2 separate regions of the Homo sapiens genome follow, and region 2 is linked to region 1. Evidence: promoter capture Hi-C in 16 types of primary human blood cells and fetal thymus (Javierre and others, 2016). All regions are on one chromosome and are shown on one strand. Each heading gives the region's core, a stretch centred on a gene start or on the middle of the fragment in contact. The rest is flanking DNA. Distances are from core to core; before and after follow the strand shown. Region 1 holds the start of RMDN1 (regulator of microtubule dynamics 1). Region 2 overlaps LOC105375937 (a long non-coding RNA gene).

What was found. Contacts are between HindIII fragments. The CHiCAGO score rates a contact against its expected background, and 5 or more counts as called.
Region 2: a fragment that was not itself captured here is called in contact with the fragment with the promoter of RMDN1 in region 1 in 1 of 17 cell types (naive CD8 T cells); the score reaches 5.3 in naive CD8 T cells.

Annotation. Positions count from the first base shown.
Region 1 is chr8:86,505,830-86,511,989 of GRCh38, reverse strand. RMDN1 (regulator of microtubule dynamics 1) reads left to right here and starts at 3,304. Exons shown (of 10, transcript NM_016033.3): 1 at 3,304-3,498; 2 at 4,878-4,995. The coding sequence starts at 3,370. It also overlaps the pseudogene SLC2A3P4. RefSeq lists an enhancer at 3,390-3,559. The HindIII fragment of the contact is 14,106 bases long and covers 1-4,760 here.
Region 2 is chr8:85,497,674-85,503,267 of GRCh38, reverse strand. LOC105375937 (a long non-coding RNA gene) reads right to left here. Exons shown (of 7, transcript XR_929129.4): 3 at 2,083-2,213. Among named protein-coding and RNA genes, the nearest start is that of CA3-AS1, 36 kb to the right of the region's middle. The HindIII fragment of the contact is 2,056 bases long and covers 885-2,940 here.

The DNA.
Region 1 (6,160 bases), core at 2,055-4,554:
AAAACACCACCTGGTGGAGAGTTAAATGCATGTTAAAATGAAAGATATTCACAAAATATTCTTTCTCCTATGTATTTTGATCCTCATATTTCTACCTTCACTCTTTCAGTCACATTTTTAATTACCTCATCCTGTCTTATAGCTTTTTTTTTTCTTTTTCTTTTTTTTTTTTTGAGAGACAGGTTCTTGCTGTCACCCAGCCAGGCTGGGATGCAGTGGTGCGAATACGATTCACCACAGCTTCAACCTCTCAGGCTTTAGCCTGAGGCGATCCTCCCACCTCAGCCAGTAGCTGGGACCTACAGGCACGAGCCACCGTGTCTGGCTAATTTTTGTACTTTTTGTAGAGATGCGGTTTCACCATGTTGCCCAGGCTGGTGTCAAACTCCTGAGCTCAAGAAATCCACTGGCCTTGGCCTCTCAAAGTGCTGGGATTACAGGCATGAGGCACCACGCCCAGCCTTAGTCTCAGAGCTTTGAATTCCATCTATATTTTCTCTCTCTTTTTTTTTTCTTTGAGACGGAGTCTAGCTCTGTCACCAGGCTGGAGTGCAGTGGTGCGATCTCGGCTCACTGCAAGCTCCACTTCCTGGGTTCACGCCATTCTCCTGACTCAGCCTCCTGAGTAGCTGGGACTACAGGCACCCGCCACCACACCCGGCTAATTTTTTGTATTTTTAGTAGAGACGGGGTTTCACTGTGTTAGCCAGGATGGTCTTGATCTCCTGACCTCGTGATCTGCCCGCTTTGGCCTCCCAAAGTGCTGGGATTACAGGCGTGAGCCACCGTGCCCGAACTTCTTTAATTTTCTTTTCTTTTTTTTTTAAAGACGGTGTCTCACTCTGTTGCCTGGACTGGAGTGCAGTGGTGTGATCACCGCTCCCTGCAACCTTGGACACTTGGGCTCAAATGATCCTCCCAGCTCATCCTCCTGAGTAGCTGGGACTACAGCATGCACCACTACATGCAGCAAATTAAAAAACAAAAACAAAAACAAAAAACAAACAACAACAAGAAAAACATGTTTTTGTAGAGACAGAGTCTCACTGTGTTGCCCAGGCTGGTCTCAAACATCCTGGGCTCAAGCTGTTCTCCCGATTTGGCCTCCCAAAATATTGGGATTACAGGTGTGAGCCACTACGCCCAGCCTATATTCTTAAGGTTATCAAACTTCCACACCTTTCCTCTGAAACTCCACACTCCAACTCTCTATGCTTTACTTGGCTGTTATATTAGTTATCAGTTGCTGTGTAACAGATTACATCAAATTTAGTGGCTTAAAACAGGAACAATCATTTATTATCTGTCATAGCTTCTGTGGTTTAGGAATTTAGAAGTGGCTTAGCTGGGTGCTTCTGGCTCATCATCTCTCTTGATGTTGCAGTCAGATATTGGCCAAGGCTGCAATCATCTGATGGCCTGACGGGCTGAAGGAGTTCTTCAGCCCAAAAGTTCAATTGTGCCAAGGCTGAGAAACCCTGCTTTAAACCGATGGGACTATACATTTAAAAAATACTAATGTCGTGAAAGACCAAGGCTGACGATTTAAAGATTTAAAGAAAGTAGAAACATAACAAATGCAAGACATTATCAAGATTTGATCTTGAATTTAGAAAAAAAAATCATTAGTATAAAGGACAGTATTGGGAATTAAACAAAATTTGTATATTAAATAATAGTATTCTGTCAATTTCAGTTTCCTGAATTTGATAATTAAACTGGGACTAAGTAAGGGAATGTCTTGTTTCTAAGACTGAAGAGTCATGATATCTGTAATCTACTCTCAAAAGGCCTTACAACAGAAAATACTAGGAATATAATATGTGTATTATAGGTAAGATATGTAAAGAAAGATAAAGCAAATGTGAGAAAAAGGTAACAATGGCTGAATCTAGCTGAAGAATATATGGGAGTTCCTGCAACTTTTCTTAGGATCTAATTTTTTTTTCAAAGCTAAAAACTTAATTACAAATTCACTCTAGCAGAGATATCAGAAACTTAATTTCACTGTTATCATGGTATCCAGTGGCATAAACATTTAGCAATGTTGAGGGGGTAGCTGCCAGTAGAAATGCATAAAATAAAAGTGATTCTGTCTTTGGGAAAAAACAGCTAGGTTTCAGAAGTTGGGAAGGAGATCTATATATTTTTAAAGATAGACTTTAAAGACATAATCCTAAAGAAATACAGCTGATTTAATGGGACTAGTGGAGGTAGCAATCATATAGTAGAAGGAGCACTGGACTCAGAGTAGAAAGACATGGATTCCTGTCTTCTAACATATCCTTGGTTAGGTTAATACATCTCTTTGAGTTACAGTTTTTTCATTTGTAAACCTGGGATACCACTTACTTCACAAGGTAGTTCGGAAGATCAATACGACTATGTATTAATTCCCTATACAGTATTAAAAGTACCATAGAAATGCAACCTAATTTTTTAAAACCATGACTCGCCTCCCTTATTACCCATAAGATTTTTCGTTAAACCCATATAGTAGGTACTCCCTTTGCAGTCTGTGTTTCCACCCACCCTGATCAGGCCTCAAGTAGGATCCAAAATTTCTTCATTTTCCCACAAAAGAATTCCACTCGAGCAAGAAATTTTATTTTACTCGAGTAAAATAAAATACTTTGCTCGAGTAAGTAAAACATCTTATTGAAGAATTTTAGGGGAGACCAGGGTTTGTTTTTGTTTCTGTTTTTTACTACACATGCCCTAGCATTCAAGGGCATCAGTATCCTTTCCAGAGGCCTCCTCCCGCTAGTTCCTCTTCCCAAAACGCTTTGCATTTTTTGTTTCTTTGCTCTGGACTCTCTCTTGAATCTACCCCCTTGAGTCGCTCAGTCGAAGAGACTGAGACTTTCCCTTCTTCATGTTGGGCAACATAATTCTTCCAATTATTTACTTCCAAAAAAGACCCACTAGTACCAAGATTCAATCTACTTTTGAAGGCAGCAGATAATTAAAATGACAATTTTTTTTCTGGCATACTTGTATTCTCGGGTCTATTTCCGAGCTTTCAGTTCTATTCTGGCGACGAATCCTTGTGCCCAAACCATGAAAGACCCCCTAGAGAGATGGAGCAGAAACAAGTCAGAGCGCCTGAAGAGAGCGCTCTCACGGCCTCAGTCCTGGACGCAGGCGCGGAAAGTCCATTAAGTCCCACCCAATCGGGGTATTTCCCACCCCCTAAGCCCGTGCACCGGAAACCATGGGGGCGGAAGAGGTGCTGGGCAGGAGGCGGAAGAGGTGCTGTGCAGGAGGCGGGCGGGCGCGGTTCTTTCCGGAAGGATTGAATCTCCTTTAGCCCCGCCCGCCTCCGTAGCTGCCTGAAGTAGTGCAGGGTCAGCCCGCAAGTTGCAGGTCATGGCGCTGGCTGCTCGACTGTGGCGCCTTCTGCCTTTCCGACGTGGAGCCGCCCCGGGGTCTCGTCTCCCTGCGGGGACTTCGGGCAGCCGCGGGCATTGCGGCCCCTGTCGATTCCGCGGCTTCGAGGTACCCCCGTGGTCCTGGCTCCCGCTCCTCACTTCCTACTCAGTGGGTTCCGGCTCCCCCTTAACTTAAGTGGTGGCGGCCCCGCGCTGCCTAAGGAATGTGGTGAACCGAGGAAAGAACTCGGGGCCACTGTGCCTGGAACGCCCGGACAGGTCCCTTCCATTTTGCAAACCTCCACTATCCTTAACTGGGGCTGTCAGAGAAGGAGTGGGGTTTGCCCCCACGCGCCCCAGAAGCTGCCTGCTACCCGCCCTTCTTGTGCGAAATGTAAAACAGGACGGGAAAGAACCTTGACCGCTGTGAAATTATTCTCCCTGTAGGCGATGACAGATACAACAGCGCTTGAGGCTGCCCCTTTCAGACTTTGAAAAGTGTGGTGTGTGATTTAAAAAGTTCTACGACTCAGAAGCAGAGATTTCATACTGTTTAGGTTTTTGTTTAAAAATGTTTATTTCTCAGTTGCCCGTTGTATCTGCATAACGTCAATGAAGGTTGTCGGCATGTTGTAGTCTCAGTTCTGGTATTTCTATTAGACTGCTCGTGGGCCTCTGTTTATTCTTGTCAGGGAATTGGAATGGCATTAATGCATATGATATATTTCACATGAACTAGGGGTTTCATTATTTTAAACTCAAATTTTTAACTGCTCAGTTAAAATCTTTCAGAATTATTATGGGACTGATGGTGGGGAGGGGTGGTTAAAATTTGGCATATTCCCCTTCCTTGGAAGTTTATAACCAAATGGGGAGGTTATAGATAATATAGGCAGAGAGATGGGAGGAGTTCTAAGTATGAAACTAGTTAGCCGTAAGTTTTCAAATTGGAACAATGATGAGTTTGAAGTCCCATTTTAGGCCTGGCCCCTTGGCTCAGCCTGTAATCCCAGCACTTTGGGAAGCCGAGGCGGAAGGATTGCTTGAGTCCAGGGGTTTGAAACCAGCCTGGGCAACACAGTGAGACCCTGTCTCTACAAAAAAATTTAAAAGTTAGCCATGTACATTTTTATATGTAGTAATTACTATATATGATAATCTTGTCTGTAAGATTCATTTTTATTATGTGTTGGTGTCTCATATTTTACTTCATACAATTTGCAATATCCATGCATTTGCAAATAAGTTGTAGCAAATAAGTTGTAGCTCTTCCTTTCCAGCAGGAGTGTGATTTTTAGATGAGCGGCGACTCCAGGGGATATCTTTTTCTCAATAAGATACGCTTTGAGATAGTTTTACTAAAGATTTTGATGAAGTAATTTTTAAGCTTCCAGTATTATGATCGATTGCTTTGGGGGTGGGAGAAAATTCATGTAATTTTTGCTTGGGGTAGCAGTACCTTCAAATTTTCAAAGTTTGTAACTCTTAACATAATTGTTTCCATAGGTAATGGGAAACCCAGGAACTTTCAAAAGAGGCCTTTTACTCTCAGCTTTGTCGTATTTGGGTTTTGAAACTTACCAGGTTATCTCTCAGGCTGCTGTGGTTCATGCCACAGCCAAAGGTAAGCATAAATTAGATATATGGAACATTTAGAGTTTTTTTGTGTGCGTACATTCAGAATTTTTATTTTAAAACAAAGAATCAGGGTAATGTTAATAATAGAAAATCCATATGGAAATATTCACAATCTGCTCAGTGAGAAATGGGAAAACAACTTCCCTGCCTAACTGCCAACCTACTGTTTGAGGAGCCAGAAGTTGACGTGAAGTTGGAAGAAGGTCACCTTTTCCAGCTAAACCCCACTCCATAGCTATGTGCATTTTTATTTGAAGTCTCCGTGACCAGAGGAAACAGTGAGAACTGAGAACCAAGATACCGTTATCAGCAAGGGTTTGGCTAAAGGGTCTGAGATGTGTAAGCACCAAGAAGGGGAAGGGAAATTGAGCAACATATGAAAAAGGGGCTGTAGGAACACAGAAAAAATAAGTCAACAATAACCTATTTCCATCCAGAGCAAAGGGACAGTGCACACATATTCATCCTCTCAAGTGTGGGCTACACTGTACATTGACTCATACTATCTCGAACATGGTCTGTTGGAAAGATTGAGACCCCCTAAGGGCACTTGGCATAGGACCACAGTGACATGGTAACAGACATAGACAAGCATGGCATGACCCTAAAGGCAACAACACACCTTTAGATAATAATCGTTCAGAAAAAAATCCCAGAGCTGAGGTTATAAATTCCAAGTTAGCTATAAACATTCTTTGGGGAATTCCTTTAAAGATATGAGTTAAAATAAAACAAAATCAACACCTAAAATCTCCTAAAGCACAAAATGGAGAAATAATGAATCTCTACCAAGAACTGATTATTTTAAGTTTCTCATTTGGATGGCTCTCCCACCAGATAGGTGGTGGGATTACTTCAAAAGTAATGAGTCTCCTACAAGGAGGAGTTGTTTGGTCCAGTGAGGGGGAACAAGCTTTCTAGAAATAACTTTCCCTTCCCTTGACTCCATTCAAAATTAGAACCCATCAACCACCATTAACTACAATGCCCATATTAGTTAATAATCCTAGATTTCAAGTACTACTACATGTAAACTATTAAAAGAAAAAAGTTCCAAAGGAAATCAATAACTTTATTATGTAGGCATATGACTTTTATGGGAAATTAAGAGTTTCCATCTGAAGGACAGAAATTGTCAAGAGGTAATGTGC
Region 2 (5,594 bases), core at 663-3,162, 1.0 Mb after region 1:
AGGTAGACTGTGTAGCTAGAGGAGGAACAACAAAGAGTAGGTGCATAGGGAACTCCATCGGTAGGAGGTCTGGCAGAGAAAGAAAAGCCAGCAAAGTGGGTAGCAAACCAGAAACTAAACATTGAAGCCACTGAAAAAACATTTAAACACAGAAAAAGCAGGAGTGATGAGCTGTATCAGTTGCATCATGATGTCAAGTAAGATTAGGACACAGAAGGGAGAGTTTGCTTCATTTAGATCTTTGTGATTTTTGTGTGTAGGTCTTTGTGATCTTAAATTAGTGCTATTTCAATGGTCTAGTGGAGACAAAATGCTGATTGAAGTGAACCAGGGAAAGAAGAGAATGGGGAAGTTGAGACAGCAATTATGAACTACACTTTCGAGGAGATTTGCTGTGAACAATGACATGGATTTATAGGTGAATTGGTTGACATAACTTGTCCAGGTGTGCACAGAGAGCAAGCCTTCAGATCTTTACTTGGAAACAAAAATGTTCTGACAAGCTCTTAACCAAATATACTGTTTTGATTTGTATCTAAAGAGCACTTTCTAAAAGTAATTACTTAACTGTTTCTTTAATTTTTAGAAAACGATATTACTATAGTCATTGAGACAGTTGCCTGATGTTGAGATGCTGCCAATTCCTAGATAAGAAGTCTGGAAATACTAGATAGCTGGGAGGGGCCCAAAGAATGCCAGAGTGTGGCGCAGATTGTATCACTGAAGAGATCCATGTCTATCACAGGAAGAATTAAGTGTATATTGTACACTATTGGCTTCCAATTTCCAAAAGAGAAATAATTCCCACTTCCCAACTGCATGCAATACTTTACTGTAGAAAGAGTAGAGCTAAAAATGATTTCATCATACTTTGTCTGAAAGCTTATGTATGACCAAGAAAATGATTGCTCTTCAGTTTGTATTTAAGGTCTGCCAGTTATACGTGACACAGGAAGTGAACATCACATGAAGTGGGACTGACTCAGAATAATAAAATATATGGTATCTAGGTTTGGGGATGTGATTCTTGATGTAAAACTTAAAAGGAGACTTTCAGACTGCATGTGGCTTTATTGATAACAAAAATTGAAAGGAGGAAGGGAAGGAGGGAGGGAGCAAAGGAAATTAACCAACAGTTATTGATTAGTCATGTGCCCCAGCACTATGCTAAGTACTTAAAAATGCATTATCCTTTTCAGTCCTCACAAAAGAACTTTTAAAGTTACTATCTACATTTTTCAATATGGTAAAATTGAGGCTCAGGGAGGTGAATTCCCTAAAACCACATAGGTGAATTAAAGAGCCAGTGCATGGTCTAACTAAATTCTAGTTCTAGCAATTAAATATAATACCATCATACACTAGCAAAAACTTTGTCAATCATCTGTGACATATTATGTTATTTCAAGTTTATTTTGAAAAAGAAAAATAATGGCTGGAATTCTTAGAATGGTACTCAACAATGTTCCATTCATCCTTAGATGTAATTGCTTGTCATGTGCTGTTTGTGGGAACATGTCACATAAGGGAAGAAATCCTTGCACCCCTGGCTCAAAATGGGCTTGTAATTCATTCACAAAATCTTTCTGGAACACAGAAATAGAGACTGAGTACAGTTTTGCTAATAGAAGAGACATATTTAAGTGGTCTCTTGTATAGATTTTTAAAAAATTAATTAAAAAATTTCTTCTGTGTACTCCCGGAATACTGGAAATCTCCAGCACAGAGCCCAGCACCTAATGGGTAGTGGCGATGGGAGGAAGGATCTCGGTAAATATGCATGGAAAAATGTGGTCTCTGATTACGCATATGTAGACACTTTGGATTATTTAAAGGACATAATAAGTCAGGCCACCTTAAGAGATGGGAGGTTAAGAATTTACATAAACAGACCAGACGGAAACAAAGAGCTGTCAGAGAGACCCAGACAGCTCTGAGGACTAGCTTCTTCATCCTCCCCTCTGAGTTTTGGGGTTTTTGTCTTGAAGGCTCCCTGTGCTGTGTTGTTTTCCGTTCTTTGTTACACAATCCTCTTTGTAGCCTTCAGGCTGTTTGTAAAGGAAGACTACCTGATAGGCTCACCTATTCATTGTTGTCTCTTCTGGGGAGAGATCTTGATTTCAAGTCACTTCTTGGTCCAAATTTGAGTTAGGTCTCTTCCACAATCCAATAAGTGGTCAATGGTGCTCAGAGAATAGCAGACCACTGCTTTCCTGAAATTATTGAGAAACAACTTTAGCTGGAATGGGGCCTGGCAAGGTGATTATGACCAATTGCGGAGGCTAATGCAACTCCACCTTGGATGCTAATCTGCCGTGTTGGCTTCTGATCAACCTCTGTTCCTGGAGGGCCTCTAAGATTTCCAGTTTATCCATTGCTTCTCGCGCAAAGGTATTTACTGTAAATCTTACCTTTAGGTCAAACAACCTAATATACTTCAGTTATCATACTTCAGATGTCCTACACATCCTTTTGGAATTATCCTTTCCCTGTGGTATGTAAGCCCTGGGTTGGTGGGGTAATAGCATGAGTTTCCAACATCTTGTCCCACCACCTCCCGAGATACCGACCAGACACAGCTTCTGATCATAAGTTCCTATTAACTATTTCTTTCTAAGAAACTGATCTGTCACTCCTCCTTTGGCCTCTCAGCTTCCTTGAATTTTGGGGTTGGTTTGCATAGACCTGCTCAACATGGAACACCACAGCATTAGTTTATATGATCTCTAACCTAATGATCTGATTTAATTTGCATCAACAGCAAGGAGTTTGCCTAACTCTCTGCCCAAAGCCTTTTCAATACAAGTCTAACTCATTTTTTTCCAGTCTTTGAAGAACAATGGAAAATTATATGAAGTGTTGCTTCAGAATTCTTTAAAAAAAAAACATAGTATTTGAACTCCAGATGTGCCAGAGTATTAGTTACTGAAGAAAAAAGCTTGAAAGTGAATTGTTTCTCCTTATAGAATCAATGAGTTGACACAAAACCCAATTCATGCTTACTTTATACAAAAAGTACTTTTGTCACCTAACAAGACTGTGACAGCTTTATTTTACTAAAGATTAAAGAAATTTGATGCACTGATAACAATGTCATGTTCTGACATGTATAGAAATAGCTTTGCAGCCAGGCACTGTGGTACACGCCTGTAATCCCAGCACTTTGGGAGACCGAGGTGGGTGAATCACCTGAGGTCAGGAGTTTGAGACCAGCTTGGCTAACATGGTGAAACCTCATCTCTACTAAAAATACAAAAATTAGCTGGGTGTGGTGGCAGGCACCTGTAATCCCAGCTACTTGGGAGGCAGAGATAGGAGAGTTGCTTGAACCCGGAAGGTGGAGGTTGCAGTGAGCAAAGATGGCGCCACTGCACTCCAGCCTGGGTGACAGGAGTGAAACTCCTCTCAAAAAAAAAAAAAAAAAAAAGAAGTAACTTTGCTCTCATTGTAAAATAACAAGTCTTATAACTATAACTTTATATGGATAACAAACATACAGGTGAAACACAGGACATGAACGAGACGCACATTGCTTCCTGAAAAATGAGGTTTGTAACAACATACATTTGAAGACATCAGGGACATGAGTGCAGCTTGATAAAGTGTTTAATATTTCTAACTTGGGACCTCCACAAATATTCTGTAAAAATTTTCGCCAATCGTGAAAGATTTACATATAATATAAACACATGGTACATTAAAATGTGCTTTCTTTCTCCTTTTAAAATTTATATTGAATCTGTCACAGTAATTAAAACATGCCATATATATTTTATGAAGTTTTTTAACAGGAAGCAACAATGAAATAAAGTGTAGGCCCAATTAAGACACGTTTAGCAATTAGTGAAGAATAAAGTTTCCCTTTGTCATGTAACACAAATTTTTGTGCGGAAAGATATTTTGAATGGTGTTAAGGGTTGAATTGTGTCTCTCCCCCTCAAAATAATATAAGGTTGGAGTCCTATTCATTGCCGATGGAATTAGTTAAGATGAGCTCATCTTAAGTAATGGAGTAGAGTGGGCATTCCATGGTATAATCCAATATGACTGGTGTCTATAAAAAGAGGATATTTGGACATAGATACACAGGGAGCATGCCCTGTGGAAATTGGTGGTATGCTGCCACAAATCAAGTAACTGCCAGAAACTAGGAGACAAGTCTGGGACAGAGCCTTCTCTAGTACCTTCACAGGTCTGGCCAACACCTTCATCTTGGTCCCAGGGTCCAGAGTTGCAAGACAATAAACTATTGTTTAAGCCACTCAGTTTGTGGTACATTGTTACAGACACTCTAGCAAACTAATACATGGTCAACCACAGTTGGTAAGTGGATATAGGAATCCCCTCTCACTCAGTGAATCCATAAGAAGGTTAAGCTTATATGCTGAGGAGGAGCAGAGTTAGACAATAGCCCAAGTATCTGTTAGAATGAATTAGTGTATATAAGAGCTGAAAATCTACCTGCCTTTGAAAAAGATACAAGAACACTGACCTCACTGAGATTCAACCCTGTAAAAATGCATAAACTGGGGTGATATGTGATTGAAACCAGATTGCATCATAAAAGGGAAAGCACCAATAGGGAAGATGATGCCTGGACCCCAAGCTGTCCTCAGTGTGAAGGCCAAATGGGGCCTGCGCTGTGGGAGCACTCGAGAGACAATGACGTGTGTGTGTGCATGCGTGTGTGTGTGTGTGTGTGAAAGAATTGTGCATGCCAGCATTTAGAAGCACAGACAGTTCTAAGCCAATACATTATAATATAGATAATATAGAGAGAGACAAGAAGGGATTCTACTCACCTCTTTTTCTTTTTTTTTTTAATTTCTTGTGTCTTTAAAACAATTTTTTTTATTTCTGTAGGTTTTTGAGAAACAGGTGGTATTTAGTTACATGAGTAAGTTCTTTAGTGGTGATCTGTGAGATTTCTGTGCACCCATCACCAGAACAGTATACACTGAACCTGATTTGTAGTCTTTATTCCTCACCCTCTTCCCACCCTTTCCCCCTGAGTCCCTAAAGTCTATTGTGTCATTTGTATGCCTTTGTGTTCTTATAGCTTAGCTCCCACTTATGAGTGAAAACCATATGTTTGGTTTTCTATTCCTGAGATACTTCACTTAGAATAATAATCTCCTTTCCCATCCAGGTTGCTGCAAATGCCATTAATTCATTCCTTTGTATGGATGAGTAGTATTTTATCATATATATGTATTTATCATATATATATTTATCATATACACACACACACACACGCACACACACACCTCAATTTCTTTATCCACTCGTTGATTGATGGGCATTTGGGATGGTTCCACATTTTTGCAATTGTGAATTGTGCTCACCTCTCAAGAGCATCACAACTTGTGTGAGTTGAAGGAGGTATGCACTAAGGCCATGAGACTATAAGGCTCAGCTAGAAGCCCTGGCAATGGTGACAGTGCTACCAGAGATGTGAGTGGATCCCCAGCCCCAGGACAATGGCAGATCTCCCTTTCCCTCACTGGTAGCAGGAGTGATGGGAGGAGACAGAATCAGAGACATTTCAGGGGACCATCACCTGTGGAATTTGCCCACAAGAAATGTCTGTGACT